Linked DNA regions of Homo sapiens: region 1 is linked to region 2. Evidence: promoter capture Hi-C in 16 types of primary human blood cells and fetal thymus (Javierre and others, 2016). All regions are on one chromosome and are shown on one strand. The core of a region is centred on a gene start or on the middle of the fragment in contact, and the rest is flanking DNA. Distances in the headings are between cores, read along the strand shown. Region 1 overlaps FAM227B (family with sequence similarity 227 member B). Region 2 holds the start of AP4E1 (adaptor related protein complex 4 subunit epsilon 1).

Region 1 (6,341 bases), core at 1,624-4,123, 1.3 Mb after region 2:
AAATTATGTGTATTAAGCCATTGATATTTTGTGTTTTTTTTGTTACACAAGTAAATTTACTATGCTGGGCGACAAGAGTGAAACTCTGTCACACACACACACACACACACACACACACAAAACATGAAAGGAGCATAGCCCTGCAGACCCATTTCAGATTCCCGACCTCTAGACCTGTGAAATAATAAACTTTGTGATTTTTTAAGCCACTTTGTTAGCTGTTTGTTACAGCAGCAATAAGAAACTAATATGAGATGAATTTTTTTTTAGTATCTTGCAAATCTGAAAAATGCCACACATTTAATTGATGCTCTGTTTATATTTAAATTTACAGATTGAAAGTCATTTTCTGGCATAATCCTCTAAATTATTGTTTTTTTATCCTCTGATTCTTGTTTACTTTAACATTTTTGTTCTAGTTTCTAGAAGATTTCTTCAGCTATTTTTCACTAGACTGTTGTTGAATAATTTATATCATATTTGTACTTTGCATTTTTTCTTATTCTGTATTCATTTATAACATGCAGTTTTGGTTTCAGGGATGCATTATCTTATTATAGCTCTCTATGAGTCTTAAAGACTTTTTTGAAGTTTCCTTCTGTTCCCCACATTGTCTGTATATGCCTAGATTTTATTTTTAGTCACTTGTTTGGATTTCCATTTTTTAAAAATATTTTTTATTTCACAATTAGTCCATAAATAATAATCTTTAGCTTTCTATCCATTTTGAAATACAAGGATTAAAATGGTGATAGAAAGCCTCATGGTGTCTCAACAGGAATTGTCAAGCATTCAGCTTCATAGTAGAGCAAGGTTTATCATTGGAAGTTTCTCAAACATTTAAAGAAGAAAAGGGACTAATAAAGATAAGAATAAATCAATGAAATTAAAAACAAATGTGCACTAAAGAAAAGCAACAAGGCCAAAACTGGTTCTTTGCAAAGATTAATAAAATTGATAAGCCTTTAGATAGACTGACCAAGATAAAGAAAAGTACAAATTTCAGAAATGAAAAATGAAACATCACCACAGACACTACAGATTGCAAAGATAATAGGAGGATATTAAGAATAAATATTTATATCAAAATACTTGACATTTCAATTTTTCTTGAAAGATAATTTACCAAAATTAAGAAGTAATAGAATAGCTGAATGATCCTATATTAATTTTGATAGCTTATATCTGTATTAGTCTACCTAGGATGCTGTAATAGAATACCACAGAGTAGATGACTTAAACAACAGTAGTTTATTTTCTCACAGTTTTAAAGGCCAGAAGTCCAAGACCAAGGTGCCATCAGTGTGAGTTTCTAGTGAGGCCTCTCTTCCTGGCTTGTAGACCACTGCCTTCTCACCATGTCCTTACAAAGCCTCTTCTCTTATATAGACAGAGCATCAGTTAAGTGTGTGGCATTTTTCACATCTGCAAAATGCTAAAAAAAAAAATCACTCTTTCTCCTCATATTAGTTTCTTATTGCTGCTGTAACAAACAGCCAACAAGCAAAGTGGCTTAAAACAACACAAAGTTTATTATTTCATAGTTCTAGATATTTTCACAGATAAAATATCTGTGTGTATATGGAGAGAGAGTATAAGCAAGCAAGCTCTCTGGTGTCTGTTCTCATAATGACACCAATCATATTAGAGCCCCACTCTTTTAGTCTCTTTTAACCTTAATTGTCTCCTCAAAGGCTCCATCTGCAAATAAAGTCACATCTTGTTATAAGTGTTAGGGCTTGAACATATGAATTTGGGGTGGGGGCATGATTAGGTCCATAACAGTATCCTTAATTTAAAACTCCCCCATAATTTCAGGTTCAGGTTCAGGGAACATAACTAGCAGTGTCCACCAAACATTTAAGGAAGAAAGGAAGAAATAGTACTGATCTTTCAGATTTTAAATTCTTTCAGATAATAGAAAAAAATAGAGGCATTTCCCAACTCATTTTTTTTGAGACCATAATAGCCTTAATTCCAAATCTTCACATTATAAGATAGAAAAATTCAGGCCAATCTTTCTTATAAACATTATAATAGCTTATATTATTAGCCTTCCCTTGTCCATTTCTTGTTATATGCATGTCGTTTGTCATGTGACGTAGTAGAACCTCCAGCTTCATGAGCAGAATATATTTTCCAGCCCTTCCTCCCCTGCTGCGTTAGTCCGTTCTCACATTGCTATAAAGAACTACCAGAGACTGGGTAATTTTAAAGAAAAGAAGTTTAATTGACTCACAGTTCCACAGGCTGTACAGGAAGCATGGCTGGGGAGGCCTCAGGAAACTTACAATCATGGCAGAAGGTGAAGGGGAAGCAGATGCGTCCTACATGGCTGGAGCAGGAGGAAAAGGGTGAAGGGGGAGGTGCTACACACTTTTAAACAACCAGATCTCATGAGAAGTCTATCACAAAACAGCACTAGGGGGATGTTGCAAAATCATTAGAAACCACCCCCATGATCCAATCACCTCCCACCAGGCCCCACCTCCAACACTGGGGATTCCAACAGTTCAACATGAGATTTGAGTGGAGATACAGAGCCAAACTATCTGACTTGGTAAAAGTCAGAAGTGAGGTTTGTGGGTGAGGGGAAAGGGATTGTTTGGCTGAGTCATTTATTTTTGCATTTGGGTGTCTTTCATACCCCAGTTTGGTCGCCCAACTCACATTGAAGCCTAAGACCCAGCTGATTTCTCTTCATTTCTGCAAAGTTACTGTACCATGGCAGGCCAACGAACATGTCAAAGGAGGAGCAGCAGAGCTGGCCCCGGGGTAAGGAAGCTTCCACAGCTTTATGTTCACTTACAAAGGTTATATTTCTCTTGGAATTTCAGGTAATCAGGGCTCCCAGGTAGAGCTGGCTTTGTCACTGAAACACCAAGGGTTTGGTCTAGGTCTTAATGCTCGCTGCACAGATGGCCAATCACTGAGATGAGTATTGCCAAGGAAGAAAGCTTTAATAGGGTGCTGCAGCCGAGGAGATGGGAGATCAGTCTCAAATCCATCTCCCTGACTGACTAAAATTAGGGTTTTATATAGCAAGGAAGAAATGTAACCATGTGTGGGAAAACAGAAATTAGGGAGTGGTGGTAAGAAGGAGGAGTTGGTTAACAGGAAACAGGTAGTCAGTTAGGCAATCATGATGGGTGATGGTGAGGAGTCTAGAGGCTAATTGTCAAGATATAGTGATTTGGTATGTTTTAGTTCCTTGACACTATCTGGGAGGCCTGATGGTTAGTTTTCTGGGAAAGGAACTCAGATAAGACCAATGTAACTTTCTCAAGTTTTAAGACTAGAAGGATTAATTTCTATATTTATTTAAAGAAACCATAAACATTAGTTCTATGGGACAGTTAGGCTTGTTTTTAGCTTCATGGGTTTACAACTTCTGCAGTTGCACAGGGCCTTATGCTGAGAAGTACATGCATTTGGTTTAATGCTCTGATGTTATTATCTTCAAACTCAATAATTTTGAACAAGGAACTCTGAATGTTTACAAGTTATTTAACTGGTCCTGCCTCCTGGCATTCACCACTTTTCACTAACCCCATAGAAAAATATGATTTTTTTTTTGTCCAAGTTTGTCTTATTATTATCATGGAAGTGTAGGTGTTTTATATCCTTCTACATCCTACCAAAAGTAGAAATCTGTTTAATTTATACCTTACCTTATTTTAATTTTACCCCAAAAGAAACATGGAATTTTTGAAATTAGTTAGAACTTCACTATGCAAGTTTCACTTTCTTCACTTTTCTAATTCCCTTTAATTTAAATGTGCATATTATTTTTGGTGCTTTGTACTTGGAGTGGTTTGACAGCCATTACAAGAAAAAAAAGTCAATGCTTAAATTGTTTTCATTAAGTTTGATTCTGTATATTTGTAAATGTATTGTGAGTTCCTTCTAGCCAAATTGCTATACCCATGAAGCTAGAGATATTATATCGTGAGTATTTTTCTGTCTGTAAGCCTTTTGCATGCACCATCTCTCATATCTCTCATTCTTTTCAATTTGACTAGCTCTAGAGTTCCCTGTTTCCCATAACATGTTCTTCACATCTCTATGCATCTTTGCTTCTGTCTAAACATTTGCTTTCCTTTTTCAAATTTTTATTTTTAATTTTTAAGGGTACATCATAAGTATATATATATTTATGGCATACATGAGATAATTTTTGATACATACAATATATAATAATTATATCAGAGTAAGTGGGGTATCCATCATTTCAAGCATTTATCACTTATTTATGTTGTAGACATTCCAATTATACTCTTTTATTTATTTTAAAATGTGCAGTAAATTATTGTTGACTATAGTTAGCCAGTTGTGCTATCGAATATTAGATCTTATTCATTCTCTCTAGCTGTTTTTATTTGTCCGTTTGTTTTTTAGAGAGAGTCTCGCTCTGTCACCCAGGCTGGAGTGTAGTGGCACAATCTTGGCTCACCGCAACCTCCGCCTCTGGGGTTCAAGCGATTCTCTCACCTCAGCCTCTCGAGTAGCTGGGACACCTGGCTAATTTTTTTGTATTTTTATAAGAGACTGGGGTTTTACCGTGTTGGCCAGGCTGGTCTCTTGTACTGTTGACCTCAAGCAATCCACCTGCCTTGGCCTCCCAAAGTGCTGGGATTACAGGCGTGAGCCACCATGCCTGGCCACTCTGTTTTGTTTTGTTTTGTTTTACCTTTTTTTAAAATTTTTTATGGAGATTGGCTCTTGCTGTGTTGCCCAACCTGGTCTCAAACTCCTGGGCTCAAGCAGTCCTCCTGTCTTGGCCTCCCAAAGTGTGCTGGTATTATAGGCATGAGCCACTGTGCTTGACCCTAACCTATATTTTTGTACCCATTGACTATACCCACTTTCCCCTCACTTCCCACTACCCTTCTCGGCCTCTGGCAACCATCATTCTATCTCTATCTCCATGAGTTCAATTGTTTAATTTTTTGACTCTCACTAAATACTCATTTTCTATAATGGTTGTCACATACACTCTTTATCTTCTTCTTGTATTATCAGTTATATATTTTCTTATATTCATCATATATTTAGATGAATGAAATATCCCCCAATTCAAATATGTAATTATTTTTTAGCATTTTTTTCTAAAACATGAACTTGTGATTCTGTAATCTTGACCACTTTATATATTGATATGAAATATGTGTTTTAATAAATAAAAATGTAGTACAATCTTTTCAGTGATATCATCATGGATATTAGGATATTAGACTTCTGAATTCCTCTTATTTTTGCCTTCTCACTGGATTTTCATTCTCTAGAAGTATTTTTATTATTTTTCAAGTACCTATATATTTCTGACATTCATCTACTCATTTATGCTTTAATTTATGCACACTGCGAGTACTTATTATGCATTGACTATGAACCAGCCACTGTGTGAAATTTAGAAAATTCAGCCATGATTCACATATACACCATGGAATACTATGCAGCCATAAAAAATGATGAGTTCATGTCCTTTGTAGGGACATGGATGAAGGTAGAAACCATCATTCTCAGCAAACTATCGCAAGGACAAAAAACAAACACCGCATGTTCTCACTCATAGGTGGGAATTGAACAATGAGAACACATGGACACAGGAAGGGGAACATCACACACTGGGGCCTGTTGTGGGGTGGGGACAGGTGGGAGGGATAGCATTAGGAGATATACCTAATGTTAAATGACGAGTTAATGGGTGCAGCACACCAACATGGCACATGTATACATATGTAACAGACCTGCACGTTGTACACATGTACCCTAAAACTTAAAGTATAATAAAAAAAAATAGCCTCTCCAAGGAATTGGCCGGCTACAAAATAAACATACCAAATTAAAAAAAAAAAAAAAGAAAATTCAGCCATGATTGCACCATAGTTTCTATCCTCATAGAGATAATCTGCTGTATGTTACCACGGAGAAAACTTTGGGGGATAAGAAAGGCTTGATGGACAAAGTGACTTTTAATTTGTTATTTGAAGTAAGAGTTAAATAGGCCAAGAAAGGATTGAAAGAGGGTTTGGGAAAGGGAGACTTCTGGGCAGAAGGAAGAATGTAGGCAAAGTCTCTAAGGCGAAAAGGAGAAAGTTGTGGTCTGGATTAAAATTAGTTTGTGTAATGTTGAATACATTTTGAAATCACAAAGAAACTACTAAAAAATGTGATTTTTATCTATTAGACTGAAATATCCAAACATTTAAATTTATTTTAACTATGTAACTAGTTAACTTTTTAAAATACTTTATCAGCAAGAACATATTATATTTTTGGCTCTGGATTTATTATAGAGGCTATCCATGATAGCCCAAAATATCTTGGAACTCTTTTAG
Region 2 (7,015 bases), core at 973-3,472:
GCAGGTGGATTACCTGAGGTCAGGAGTTCAAGACCAGCCTGGCCAACATGGCGAAACCCTGTCTCTACTAAAAATATAAAAATTAGCCGGGTATGGTGACGTGTGCCTGTAATCCCAGCTACCAGGGAGGCTGAGGCAGAAGAATCACTTGAACCCAGGAAGCAGAAGTTGCAGTGAGCCAAGATTGCACCACTGCATTCCAGCCTGGGCGACAGAGTGAGACTCCATCTCAAAAACAAAACAAAACAAGACAAGCCCACAAGTAATGATTCTGGAATGTGAAGCAGGTTCTCTCCGGATAGCATCAACTTATTAGAGCTGCCAAAAAAATATTTTTTTTAAACCTTCAGAGCACTTTCTTTTCTGTCTTTCCTTCTCTTTTAGCACTTCTATTGCATTGTAGTCATGCTTATACTTGTCTTAAGCCCAAAACGAATGACTAATTCCTTGGGAAAAGGGAATGTGTTTAATTCTATTTTCCTGTGTCTAACACATAACCTTGTTCCATAAACATCTGTTGAACAAATAATGACATTAACACGTGCTCTTTTTAAGATATAAACTCCTTGTAGCTGTGAATCGGTATACTACACAATCCGTGCAACCATCGAGCGCCTGTGGGGGCCCGGCGCGGTGGCTCATGCCTGTAATCCCAGCACTTTGGGAGGCCGAAGTGAGCGAACACTTGAGGTCAGTTCAAGACCAGCCTGCCCAACATGGTGAAATCCTGTCTCTACTAAAAATACAAAAATTAGCCGGGCGTAGTGGCATACGCCTATAATCCCAGCTACTTGGGAGGCTGAGGCAGGAGAATCGCTTGAACCCGGGAGGCAGACGCTCCAGTGAGCCAAGATCGCACCATCGCACTCCAGCCTGGGCGACAGAGCGAGACTCCGTCATTAAAAATTTAAAAATTTTAAGGCCGGGCAGGGTAGCTCACGCACGTAATCCCAACACTTTGGGACGCCAAGGCGGGCGGATCGCGAGGTCAGGAGATCGAGACCATCCTCGCTAACACGGTGAAACCCCGTCTCTACGAAAAGTACAAAAAATTAGCCAGGCAGTGGCGGGCACTTGTAGTCCCAGCTACTCGGGAAGCTGAGGCAGGAGAATGGCGTGAACCCGGAAGGCGGAGCTTGTAGTGAGCCCAGATCGCGCCACTGCACTCCAGCCTGCGCGACAGAGCGAGACTCCGTCTCAAAAAAAAACAAAAATTAAAATTTTTAAAACCTTAAGGCTCCAGCGAGCCGAGATCGAGATCGCACCATTGCACTCCAGCCTGGGCGACAGAGAGAGACTCCGTCAATAAAAATTTAAAAATTTTAAAAGTTTAAGAATTTTTATAACTGCTCATTTTCAAAGCCCACTTGAGGCAGAGACTTAGCAAATTTTACATTTTGAGAGAACTGTGCTTTTTCTTTGCCCAACACGTTGTTGTAACCCAAGAACCTCAAGCTCCCCAAAGATATTCAACAAGAGGCTCACAGGATCTCTTCAGGTATGCGACATCTGAACTGTTGTTCAGTTGAAGGCACCGGGGGAGAGAAGGAAACTGAGTAGGGAAAAAAAACTTTGTGGAAGGTAAATAATGTCTGACACTTCCATCGCACTAGGTATTTTCACACGCTTGACATCTCACCCAATCCTCAAAACAAACAAAAAACCTATGAATTATGTATCAGTACTTTTCCACCACAACGTTGAGAAAACACACGGAGGCTCAGAGGTTACAGAGATGTGCCCCCGATCAAAGAGTCAGTGTCAGAACTAACTGTGGAAACTCGGCTTCCCTGCTGTCAGTCCCAGCAGGAAAGTGAAGCTTCCAGGCAGACGAAAGGACGAACCGACACAGCAGCCCCTGAGCCCCGCCGGAGGGCTAACCCCAGAGGCCCTGAAGTCTCGCCGCCCGGCCAGGGCCTCCTGGCGCGGGGGCCTCACTCCGATGTCCCTGAGCTCCCGGGCCGGCGGGCACCTACGTGCTTGGAGGTGAGGGCTGTGATGCCGCGGACAAGGCTGCCCAGCCTCGAGGAGAAGGACGCCTTGGCGGCCGCGGGCCCACCACCGGGCTGGTTCTGCAGAAAGAGTCCCGGCAGCGCCGTCAGCGTCTTCTCCACTATGTCGCTCATCGCCGCCGCCGCCCGCGATGCCGCCGCCGCCCGCGATCCCGTAGCCGCCCGGCTTCATGCCCGGCCGCCGCTGCCGGCCCGGCCTCCGTAGGCACTTCCTGTTTTTTGAATAAGAAATCTTTATTGGCGTCCCACCTGAACAAGTTCAGCGTCGTTCTCGCGAGAGGCCACCAGAGGGCGCAAGAGACCGCGGGGGTGGAAAAGGCCGCTCGCTCGAGATTGCGCGCGTAAGTAGACCTCCTTTCTCGCGACGGGGTAGCGGTTCCGGAATCCCCCAGAACCGTGAGTCCTCCTGAGGAAGCCGTCGGGGGCCTGGCCCTGTTAGGCACTGTCTCCCAGAGTCCCCCTTTCCCACTAGCCGCCTCCGCGTAGCCCGAGACCGCGTCAGGAGTTGCGTCTTCCTGGCTGCGCCTTTTTCGGGACGTCCCCGCGCCGTCCGCCGCCTCTCACTGTCCCCGGAGCGCGCGCCACCCGCCCGCTTCCCACAGGCGGTTTCACGCGGGTCCCCGGCGCCGCGCGCGGCTCCGGCCCTGGCGACTCTTGGGACACCCGAGTAGTTGCGTGATAGCGGGGCTGTCCTGAGGATTCGGCGTGCCAGGTTGAGAGCCCGTCGCGTGCCGGGGACTCGCGGCCACTGTCGCTTCCCGTCCGCCCCTCTTCTCCTGGGATTTGGGGAGGTGGGCGGGAAAGAGAACTGGTCGGCGGCCACCCTTGCCGACTCCTCCTCAGCAGGTCGCAGTTGAAAGGTCATCCTTCTAGAGCCCACTCCCCTGGCCCGGCGGGCAAGGATAGGTCTCCAAGTCCCACCCTCTCACAGCGCTCGGTTCTGTTCCACTTTAGAACAGGTCGCAGTTGCCACTACGTAAACAGCTCCCCATAGAGAGAGTATTTTATTCATTCCGATTGCTCCGTCTTTTATCTAGAACAGAGTCTGGTACAATGGCTCTCGAAATGTGGTCTGGTGACCTCAGGGTCGCTGAGACCCTTCTAGGGAATTCACAAAGTCAAAACAACATTGATAACGTTTCTTACGTGTTATTTGCCGTTTTTACCCTCATTCTGTTGGAAATGTACAGAGTTTTCAAGCGGCTAGATGACGATTGACTAGCTGGTAAAATGTATCCTGGAGTATCCTTGTGTTTTCTAGAATTTTCTAAGGTAGTAGGTTTAGGGCATAAATACGTGCGTTTTCAGAGATTAATGCAATTTGCTCTCAGTACTCCTAGTGTGTTTCTAGGAGGTAGGTTAGGTAGGTGGTGATAGCCTCCCTTCAAGGGGAACAAACTTGCTAAATAAATAGAACAAACCAGCCCATAGTGTACAAACCACATCCGAGGCTCCTGGTTAGAAAATTTTGCAGCAAAGAGGTACGAGAGCAGAAGGGAAAATCCCCAAACTCTCACAAGCGCAGAAACCCATGATCAGTGTCGTTGGGCTGAATTATACTCATTATAATAGTAAAAAAAAAAAAAAAAAAAAAACACCACTCCTGGGTGAAGATTTAAGATACTAATAAGACATGCAGTGTATGTACTAGCATATACAACCACAGCGCACATGGCGACAGAAAACCAGAGAACGTGCTTAATAGCAGCACCCGTTCTCCCCGCTTCATGAATGATCCTGTGAGACTCCTACAAAGGGAGTTTCCCCAGTGTCAGTGCATGCTGTCTCACCTTTGAGCAGCCCGCTCTGATCAGCTGTGAGGGTGTACTTTCGCTTTGCAATAAACTCTTTTGCTTGCTTTTACTTTGGACTTCAAAATTATTTTGCACCGCGAAGTCCAGAACCTCAACCGGCCCACCAGCTACAGCTACACTTACAAGCTATCTTCGGTTATACCTGCTCTAATCTCTGTAACCTCCTTGTCACCTAATAAATGAGTTTTTTTGAAATCCTGAAGTTGTTTTAATACCTATATGGGAACATAAGAAAAAAGTTCAATTTGTTGGCTTGTCTCGCAAGAATATTTTTTAATATATTGAGAACATTTTAAAATATTTAAACTTTATCTAAAAGGGATACTCATTTATTCATTTAATTTTTTTTTTTTCAGAGTCTCGCTCTATCACCCAGACTGGAATGCAGTGGCACAATCTGGGTTCACTGCAGCCTCCTCCCCCTGGGTTCAAGCAATTCTCCTGCCTCAGCCTCCCGAGTAGCTGGGATTACAGGCGCCCGCCACCATGCCCGGCTAATTTTTGTATTTTTAGTAAACACAGAGTTTCACCATTTTGGCCAGGCTGGTCTCGAACTCCTGACCTCAGGTGATCCGCCCACCTCAGCCTCCCAAAGTGCTGGGATTACAAGCGCGAGCCACTGCGCCCAGCCAGAAAGGGATACTCTTTTAGAATTTAATTTTGTTATTTTATTATTATTTTTTGAGATGGTGTCTCGCTCTGTTGCCCAGGATGGAGTGCAGTGGTGTGATCTCGGCCCACTGCAACCTCCGCCTCCCAGGTTCAAGCAGTTCTCCTGCCTCAGCCTCCCGAGTAGCTGGGATTACAGGTGCGTGCCACCACACCCGGCTAATTTTTTGTATTTTTAGTAGAGATGTGGTTTCACCACGTTGGCCAGGATGGCCTCGGTCTCCTGACCTCATGATCTGCCCGCCTCAGCCACTCAAAGTGCTGGGATTACAGGTGTGAGCCACCACGCCCTGCCTAGAATTTAATATTTTGTCGTCCGGGCGCGGTGGTTTATGCCTATATTCTAGCACTTTGGGAGGCCAAGGCGGGCAGATTGTCTGAGCTCAGGAGTTCCAGACCAACCTGGCCAACATGGTGAAACCCCGTCTCTACTAAAAATACAAAATATTCGGACAGGCACGGTGGCTCCCACCTGTAATCACAGCACTTTGGGAGGCCAAGGTGCACAGACCACAAGGTCAGGATATCAAGACCAGCCTGGCCAACCTATGACTCTACTAAAAAAATACAGAAATTAGCCGGGCATGGTGGCGTGCGCCCGTAATCCCAGCTACTCGGGAGGCTGAGGCAGGAGAATTGCTGGGACCCGGGAGGCGGAGGTTGCAGTGAGCCGAGATTTCACCACTGCACTCCAGCGTGGGCGACAGAGCAAGACTCCACCTCAAAAAAAAAAAAATACAAAAAATTTAGCCGGGCATGGTGGCACACCTGTAGTCCCAACTACTTGGGAAGCTGAGGCAGGAGAATTGCTTGAACCTAGGAGGCGAAGGTTGCAGTGAGCCAAGATCGCACCACTGTACTCCAGCCTGGGTGACAGAGCAAGACTCTGTCTCCAAAAAAAAAAGGAATTTAATATTTTATCTTTAAATTAAATTTTGTTTTATGTATAGTTTTTTAATTTTAGGTTCTTCCATTGGCTTAAAAAGGGGATACTAGAAGATTCGCTTTCTAACCTTCCCGTCTGTAAAGATGCCGAAAAAGATGAAGCTGACATCAGTATCAGAATTCACTGACTCAGGGAAAGGGAGAAATCTGGTCGAAACTATAAATAACAAAGGAAAGTATGACAAAAGCTTCTTTCTTTCCCTTGGCATTAGAGATGTTAATCACTTGCCTTATTTTATGTCATTCAACAGAACATTTTCAAATACTATTATGGTGCCAATCAAGTTGAGGCATCATTTTCAGACCAGTCAGAATTTAAAAGAAAGGGAATTTAATACTTTCAACATAGAGATGATATGCTTTATAAAAGCCAAAGCTTTTGTATTACCATTTTCAAAGTAAAAATGAAAAACCTACTGAAGCATCTTACACATGAAATTATTATATTTCATTGATAGGAGAAGGACATGCAATAGCTAAAAGACTAATGAATGCCTGCTAGCTGATAATCAGTAAAAGAACTCATGGGAGTGCTACTTTCCAAAGATGCAATAACTCACCAAATTAGACATTTAGTTGCAGGCCAGGCGAGGTGGCTCATGCCTGTAATCCCTGAATTTTGGGAGGCCAAGGCAGGCGGATAACTTGAGATCAGGAGTTTGAGACCAACCTGGCCAATATGGTGAAACCCTGTCTCTACTAAAAATACAAAAAAAAAAAATTAGCTGGGCATGGTGGTACATGCCTGTAATCCCAGTTATTCGGGAGGCTGAGGCTGGAGAATCACTTGAACCTGGGAGGCAGAGGTTACAGTGAGCTGAGATGGTGCCACGGCACTCCAGCCTGGACAACAGAGCAAGACTGTCTCAAAAAAAAGAAAGAAATTTAGTTGCAAATATAAAGACTGAGTTACTATGTCATCTGCAGAATTATAATTCCTTTAAAATGGACATAATTATTCATGTAGCTGGACTTGTTGCTTTGCTTATACCCATCCAGTGTCAGCACCAACTAATTCTTGAAGATCCTCTTTTACATAAATCTTGACAAGAAACACAAGTGGTGATGAAATAATGTATTGAACAACTTCTTTGAATCTCATAGTTTATCCTGGAACAATACACTCAATTTTTTTTAAGTCAGTTTCACTTAAGAATATCCTTGATGAAGCAGTAAGAATTCTTAATTTTATTAAATTTCAGTCTTTGAGTGCACTTTTTAAAAAATTTTTTTTGTGACAAAATGGGAAGTACTCATAAAGTACAACCTCATAAAGTATAAACTCTTAAATCCTGAGGCTTTTCTTTTGGCCGGGTGTGGTGGCTCAGGCCTATAATCCCAGCACTTTGGGAGGCTGAGGCGGGCAGAGCACCTGAGGTCAGGGGTTCGAAACCAGCCTGGCCAACGTGGTGAAACCCCATCTCTACTAAAAATGCAAAATTACCTGCGCGTGGTGGCACATGCCTGTAATCCCAGCTACTTGGGAGGCTGAGGCAGGAGAATCACTTGAACCCGGGAGGCGGAGGTTGCAGTGAGCTGAGATCGTGCCATTGCACTTCAACCTGGGCAACAAGA

The links. Contacts are between HindIII fragments. The CHiCAGO score rates a contact against its expected background, and 5 or more counts as called.
Region 1: a contact is called between a fragment that was not itself captured here and the fragment with the promoter of AP4E1 in region 2, in 1 of 17 cell types (total CD4 T cells). The highest score is 6.2, in total CD4 T cells.

Annotation. Positions count from the first base shown.
Region 1 is chr15:49,611,555-49,617,895 of GRCh38, reverse strand. It overlaps FAM227B (family with sequence similarity 227 member B), which reads left to right. Exons shown (of 16, transcript NM_152647.3): 2 at 2,653-2,775. The coding sequence starts at 2,725. Among named protein-coding and RNA genes, the nearest start is that of FAM227B, 6.1 kb to the left of the region's middle. The HindIII fragment of the contact is 173 bases long and covers 2,787-2,959 here.
Region 2 is chr15:50,903,890-50,910,904 of GRCh38, reverse strand. It overlaps AP4E1 (adaptor related protein complex 4 subunit epsilon 1), which reads right to left and starts at 2,222. Exons shown (of 21, transcript NM_007347.5): 1 at 1,977-2,222. The coding sequence starts at 2,126. RefSeq lists enhancers at 1,146-1,887, 1,934-2,103, 2,124-2,413, 1,888-2,629. The HindIII fragment of the contact is 3,809 bases long and covers 1,822-5,630 here.